2 separate regions of the Homo sapiens genome follow, and region 1 is linked to region 2. Evidence: promoter capture Hi-C in 16 types of primary human blood cells and fetal thymus (Javierre and others, 2016). All regions are on one chromosome and are shown on one strand. The core of a region is centred on a gene start or on the middle of the fragment in contact, and the rest is flanking DNA. Distances in the headings are between cores, read along the strand shown.

Evidence for each region. Contacts are between HindIII fragments. The CHiCAGO score rates a contact against its expected background, and 5 or more counts as called.
Region 1: a contact is called between a fragment that was not itself captured here and the fragment with the promoter of SACS in region 2, in 1 of 17 cell types (total B cells). The highest score is 5.3, in total B cells.

The regions. Positions count from the first base shown.
Region 1 is chr13:24,224,941-24,228,420 of GRCh38, reverse strand. The region is part of intron 2 of SPATA13 (spermatogenesis associated 13); the gene reads right to left. Among named protein-coding and RNA genes, the nearest start is that of SPATA13-AS1, 28 kb to the left of the region's middle. RefSeq lists an enhancer at 2,591-3,447. The HindIII fragment of the contact is 5,204 bases long and covers 1-3,480 here.
Region 2 is chr13:23,432,195-23,435,747 of GRCh38, reverse strand. It overlaps SACS (sacsin molecular chaperone), which reads left to right and starts at 2,046. Exons shown (of 10, transcript NM_014363.6): 1 at 2,046-2,133. RefSeq lists an enhancer at 2,227-2,794. The HindIII fragment of the contact is 4,074 bases long and covers 1,379-3,553 here.

The DNA of each region.
Region 1 (3,480 bases), core at 745-3,244, 790 kb before region 2:
AGTACAGGCTCGGCGCGGTGGCTCACGCCTGTAATCCCAGCACTTTGGGAAGCTGAGGCAGGCAGATCACGAGGTCAGGAGATCGACACCATCCTGGCTAACATGGTAAAACTCCGTCTCTACTAAAAAAATAGAAAACATGAGCCGGGCATGGTGGCAGGTGCCTGTAGTCCCAGCTACTCAGGAGGCTGAGGCAGGAGAATGGCGTGAACCCGGGAGGTGGAGCTTGCAGTGAGCCGAGATTACGCCACTGCACTCCAGCCTAGGCGACACAGTTAGACTCCGTCTCAAAAAAAAAAAAAAAAAAAAAAAGAGTACAAGAGGGGAGAAACCCTATTTTTACAAAAAATTAGCTGGGCATGCTGGCAGGTGCCTGTAATCCTAGCTAATCGGGAGGCTGAGGCGGAAGAATCGCTTGAACCCGGGAGATAGAGGTTGCAGTGAGCTGGGATGCACCATTGCACTCCAGCCTGGTGACAGAGTGAGTGAAATTCCATCTCAAGAAAACAAAAGTACAAGAGGAAGCCTGATGTGCTATATAAGAATTCTGAGGCCGGGCGTGGTGGCTCACACCTATAATCCTAGCACTTTGGAAGGCTGAGGTAGGCGAATCACTTGAGGCCAGGAGTTTGAGACCACCTGACCAACACGGCAAAACCCTGTCTCTACTAAAAATACAAAAATTAAGCTGGCATGTTAGTACACGCTTGTAATCTCAGCTACTTGGGAGGCTGAGACATGAGAACTGCTTAAACTTGTGAGGCAAAGGTTGCAGTGAGCCAAGATCGCACCACTGCATTCCAGCCTGGGTAACTGAATGAGACTGTCTCAATAAAAAAAAAAGAATTTTGAAGAAATGACTGCAACTGAAAAATGTGATGAATATCTGGAGGCAAATTCGTAGAATTATCAACATGTGCACGCACCTTTAATAAACTGAATTTCAATATAATTGTTGTTCTGCTTTCTATCTTTGGTGATCTTTTGTGGGTAGAAATTAAATTTGATATAACTAACAATAGCAAATATACATATAAAACCATAAAATGGTCAAAATCACCCTGGCAAATAACTACACACTAGTTCATATATATTCACTTAACAGGTTCTCAGGAATAAAATATTTCAATGATTTTTAAAAAAATAATTCTGTTAAGCAGAAAATAAAATCCAATCTTTAACATAAAAAAACCCTCCAGACATATACAAATCCTTTTTTAGGGAGGGGAGGTTACAAACTACGAGTGGCGCAGGTAGGGTGTTTAGTGGAAGGAATGTTACCCTTCATCCTTCATCTCACCCAGGAATTAGTGAAGTTTGGTCAGTTGTACAAACAGGAGCCAACAGAACTGGAACTCCTTCCTAAGTCTGGTAACTACTCCTGTGTCCTTACAACTGCTCCACAGGCTCAAATATGCAAATGAGCAGACGGTTCTCAATAGTCAAGACCTCTCAAACTGGTGAGCTCTCCACGGGAACCTCAGGTAACAGACAATATGCAGTCTCACTTCTCTGGCTGCCCAGGGGACCTTGAGACTAATCTCAATCTGAAAGTACTCTGCGATAGTCCTACTTTCTAGGTCTTTCTACAAAGGTTCTACTAACCAGGTCTGTCTGTACAGCAAAGGTCAAGATGGACAGTGCAGAGGCTGTCCTGGCTTCTGAGTCTGCAAACTTGCTGTGCAATCATTCATCTGTAGGTGCTAAGACAAAACTGAGGTCCTCCCCAGGGATGGGTGGGAAGGAGCATTTGCTAGGGGATTATTCTCTATGGCAAGCACCATCTATACCTGCAAATCAATCTAGAAATGTATGTGAAGAATAATCTGCAATATATACACATGAATGCATTTCCCCATCTTCCAGCTATGTAAGGTAATATTACTCAGTGTTTATAAAGTGAAAATTATAAAGATGTTTGATAGAATATGAAAAAAACTGCTGTTGTAACCTTGACAGCTATTAGCTTAGTCAATTAATGAGGTGCTTATGATCTACTCTAAAATAAGTACAATAACCCATCATAAAAATCTCTTTAAACAAGCATCATTCAAAGGCCGACAGGTACCAAACTGCATGTTCCTAATTCATTCCTAGGAAATTAAACAGACTTAGTGATGGTGGTGGGAGGTGGACAGGTACCTAGGTGGGAAGGGGCGGGTCCGCAGTGAAACCCCACCTTCAAGCCAGGGACAGCCTGAAGCCTCAGGGCACAGATGCCAATTTCGTGTGAAGTCAGCGACCTGGAGTGAGAACTTCCTTGATGCCTTTCAACCAATCAAATGGTGCTTTTTCCAGGCCTGCCCATGGACCAATCAGCATGCACTTCCTCCATTCTGAGCCTATAAAAACCCCCAGACTCCGCCACTCATTGGGACTACCTGCCTGCAGAGAGGAGCAACACATTCCAGGTCTCCTATGGGCTGAGAGTTGTTCAGTCACCCAATAAAGCTCTTCTCAGCCTTGCTCACCCTCCGTTTGTCCACGTAACTTCATTTTTCCTGGATGTGGAACCTGCCCAATGGTGGGAGCGAAAGGAGCTGTAACACTTTCCCGGATGGCTCGCCCAGCTGCAGGTGGGAGTTAAAGGGGCTGCAACAAATTCCTGGCCAGCTCACCGAGCTACAGACAGTGACATGCCCCTGGACTGCAGGCGTGAAGAGTGGCAACCCTTCTGGGGGCCCAAACCTTGGGATTCCCTCAACTAAAGTTGTAACACTATAACCCTCCCAATTTCCACCAGCACCAGGCAGCTGCAACATGCAACAGGAAGCAGTGGTGGGGCTAGACCAGCCCAAGAGCTGCATGCTGGAGTGGGGCAGTGGGACTGAAGGAGATATAACACAAATGGGGTGAAACATACTCCCAGAAACAAGCCCCCCTGCTTGCTGTAATGCAGGTGATGAGAAGAAGAGAGCTGTGGCCCTTCTGGGAGCCCAGATGAGAACCAGGCTGTGACAGGCCGTAACACCCTCTTTGGGGCTCTGTGATTCCTGGTATCTCTGAGCTTTCACTCGTCACCACGTTCCCCTCGTCCACACGCTGGTGCCTGCAGCGGAAGCCAGCTACAGTGCATCTGGTCCAGCCACAGCCTTGCATGGAGCCAGCACCTGTGCCGGCACCTGGAGCTGCCTGCCCTGCTGCAACAGCTGACATGCCTGGCTGTGTGCAGAGGCTGGACTCCATGCTCACTCACTCACACACCCCTCGCTGCTCCATTCCTGGTTTGCCCTTGGCAGGCATGGGATCTGGGCTGGCAGTGCAAGCCGAATGCAGCCTGCTGGGCAGAATGGGTGGAACGAGGCTAGTGGGCACGAGCAAAACTCAAGCAGAGGCACTGCCAGCCCACAGAGGTTTCCAGCTGGTCAAGTGACACCCACAGGTGCTGTGACATTAGGACAGGTAATAGTCTCTTAACAGAAAGAATTTCACTTATATGTACTTTGTGGGAAAGGTTACAGAAACAGCTTAAAATACAAA
Region 2 (3,553 bases), core at 797-3,296:
ACACTATTTTTTGTCTTTTTTTTTTTTAATTTTAGAGATGAGGTCTACTCTGTCGCCCAGGCTGGTGTGCAGTGGTGCAATCATAGCTCACTGTAACCTTAAACTCCTGGGCTCAAGTGATCCTCCCACCTCAGTCTCCCGAGTAGCTAGGACTGCAGGCATGCACGACCAATGCCTGCTTAATTTTTTAATTTTTGTAGAGATGAAGTCTTGCTATGTTTGTTTTTGTTTTTTTGGGACAGGGTCTCACTCTGTTGTTTAGGTTGGAGTGCAGTGGCACAATCTCAGCTCACTGCAACCTCTGCCTCCCAGGTGCAAGCAATTCTCCTGCCTTAGCCTCCAAGTATCTGAGATTACAGGTGCACACCACTGCACCCAGCTAATTTTTGTATTTTTAGTAGAGATGGGGTTTCATCATGTTGGCCAGGCTGGTCTTGAACTCCTGGCCTCAAGTGATCCACCCACCTCGGCCTCCCAAAGTGTTGGGATTACAGGCGTGAGCCATTGCGCCCAACCTGAGGTCTTGCTATGTTGCTCAGGCTGGTCTCAAACTCCCGGCCTCAAGCAATCCTCCTTCCTCAGCCTCCTGAGTTGCTAGGACTACAGGCATGTACCACCACACCTGGCTAAGCAACACTATTTCTGAATAATCAATATTTCACTGGATACTTTTATGTAGTGTGAGTAGGTAGGCAAAATCGTCTAACCTCTCTGAAAACTATACATATATATTATATATATAGTTTATATATATGTAGTTATTTATAACTTTTCCCTTTGGGGGTGTAATGGTTTACAGCTGTGAGTAGAAGAGCCTGCTGGGGGAGCAACATACTGGGTATTCACCGTTTAGTCTACGGTGTCTAGCTGATGCCAGGAACAAGCAAGGGCTCAATATTTGTGTGCTGAATTAAACTGATTACAACTGAACCATGTAAGAATGGTGGTAGCCTCAGAGAGGCAGCCTCACTCCACAGGCGCATGCCACCGAGGGCCTGTTGGTCCACACGGTGCTACAGTGAGAGCTCAATGAAAAGGCCCTGCAAGACACCATTTCTCCCCAATAGAAATGTGCTTTGTTTGTGATTATTCAGTCCTTTTGTTAGAACAGGTCTCCCACCTATCTCCCAGGAAATAATATGTACACAAATCTGTGAGTCTAGGATGTGAAGGAGACACCATTAGATGTGGCATCTTCTGGGTCAGACCAGTGCAGGGCCAGGTACAAGAAGCAGGGGCTCTCCTTCCCCAGTTGCTGCTGACATTTGGGGCTTGCTTTGGTCTTCTCCCAGGAGAGATCATTTGAGCCTTTTCAGGTCTGGAGTTGTTTGAACTGACTTAAGAGGAATTTTCCGCAGGAACGAAGCAATAAGAAGCTTCCGAGATCCAGTATTTCCAGATAAGCCAAAATTCTAGATTTATATGGATAAAGCAGGCAGTTCTACTAGGAGACTATCATGAGGAATATGATGTACCCAGGCCAGTGGCAGGATAGCTGTGCGCCGAAATGAAATAAATGCTGGTGGTATTTCACATACCCCATCAGAGGAAGCAAGAAAATAGAGTTACAATATTTTGTATTATTAAATTGAGACTAGCAATTTCAACTTAGAACAGGATCAATTGTATAGCATTTCACAGTTTACCACACATTTTGAGTGAATGCTTTTTTTTTTAACCATTGGAACCTCATAAACAACTCCAAATAACATACAAAAAGCAGATTGTGAGCTACAACATTACCAGGTCACAGGTCTTCATTTCCCATGAGGTACTCGAGACCCATGAGTGACTTGTCTAAGGTCACACAACTGGTGTTTAATAGAGCCAGTCTTCTGTTAGCCATACCTACTGCTAAAAATTAGCCTTTGCAAGTGAAGAGAACAAAAACGTGTGGTTGGTTGTCACCCCCACAATGAACGACAATGCTGCACTTGCAGCATTATTGACACCTAAGGTTGATGACAGTCCTGTCTCTTTAAGAAGAAAAAAAAAGGCTGCTGGGTAGGGGGAGCGACTGACTGCGGCAGGAGCCGCCTGGACCCAGTGCGGCTGCGGGACAGTCACGCTGGGAACTGCTGATGGCACTGGAGGAAAACAAAGGCCGAGAGACCCTGATGCCCACAGCCCCCAGTAAGTCCAAGGTTCCAGCTGGGTGGCCAGCGAGGGCAGCTGCAGGAGCGGCCTGGGGACGGGCAGGCTCCATGGTGTTGTTGGCCATCCGTCCCCTGAGCCTTGGGAAACCAGGGCTCGGCCACTGCAGCTGCTTGGGGGAGGTAAGGGGCCACTTTCCTTTAACATACCCGCCTTCGGAGAGGACAGAGACGAGAGGGCCTTCAGCGTGCTGTACAGCTGTGAGTAATGAGCTCTTCTGAAAATGTACAGTTTGGGTTGGCTGCTTGTGAATTTGTGGGTGAGGAGCGGCTGCAGGGTGACTAGAGAGATCTGCCGCGGTCAAGATGCTGGACTAGCCGCTTTGTCATTTTAATTTCCACCCGGGTTGCCAGGCACCGCCACAATGGAGCTGTTGCAGTAACACAGCGTGGGGTCCAGAGTCTTATTGAACAATAAGATGGGATTCTCAAAGTAGCTTACGGTTAATTTGCAGAATTGCTCTCACTTTAAACAGCATGCCTTCAAACAATGCCATATGTTATGGTTATCTTATATAATATTTGAAAATCCTGCTTTTAGTTAAAAAATATTTCACATATTTAATTTTATTCTAATAAGCGATCATTAGATTCTTTGAAAGAGTATTCCAGCTTTAGCAACAAAACCTCTCTCTCGCTGTCTTTTTTTCTTCCTTAAAACGAGGTCAATACCTCAGAGAAGAGGACTGGATTTGTTTCTATTAAAACATATCAATTGTTTTGGCTTTAATCTTAATTCTCTCTGCCCCTGAAGATGGATAAAGCCCATTCCGCTTAAGTAAAAGGCAGAAGCCAGGTTGAATCCACGTGCTTCCCAAGCGCAAGCTGCTCTGAAGTTATTTTGAAGGGGAACTCTTCATTTCTCCATCAGTGCAGATAAAAGTAATTGATTCACAGGTCATGGATGAAAATAATAATAATAATAATAAATAATTGACAATCCCATTTTATTTGTCACATGACAAGTAGATTTGCCATTCTGTTTTTCTTAAGCTGCCCATTGATAACCAGACTCATTCTACGTTAATGCAGGGTCATGATGTCCCAGTAGTTTTACTTATGACCATCCAGACTGCCTTCCCTAATCTTGCCCTGAAGCCTCACTTTGGGCTGTGACAACGATCCCCAGTTTCCTTTCCTCTATCCTCCTTAGCCGTCCCTTTCATCCTTTCTTCTCCTTCCTGGGCTGTTTGGGCAATTTTTTCTTTCTTTTCTCCTTGGATCTTAAAGACTCCTTCAGTCTCCCTTTCAAACAAAGCAAGCCAGATTTTCTACATACCCTATTTTCCTTTAATCTTACTTGGTTTATAAGAACTTTTCCACGATTAAGTGTTTTCTATTCTTCACATAATAGGAAGAAAAGTCCAATTATAGAACTTGAAGACCAAGGTTTGCTTACA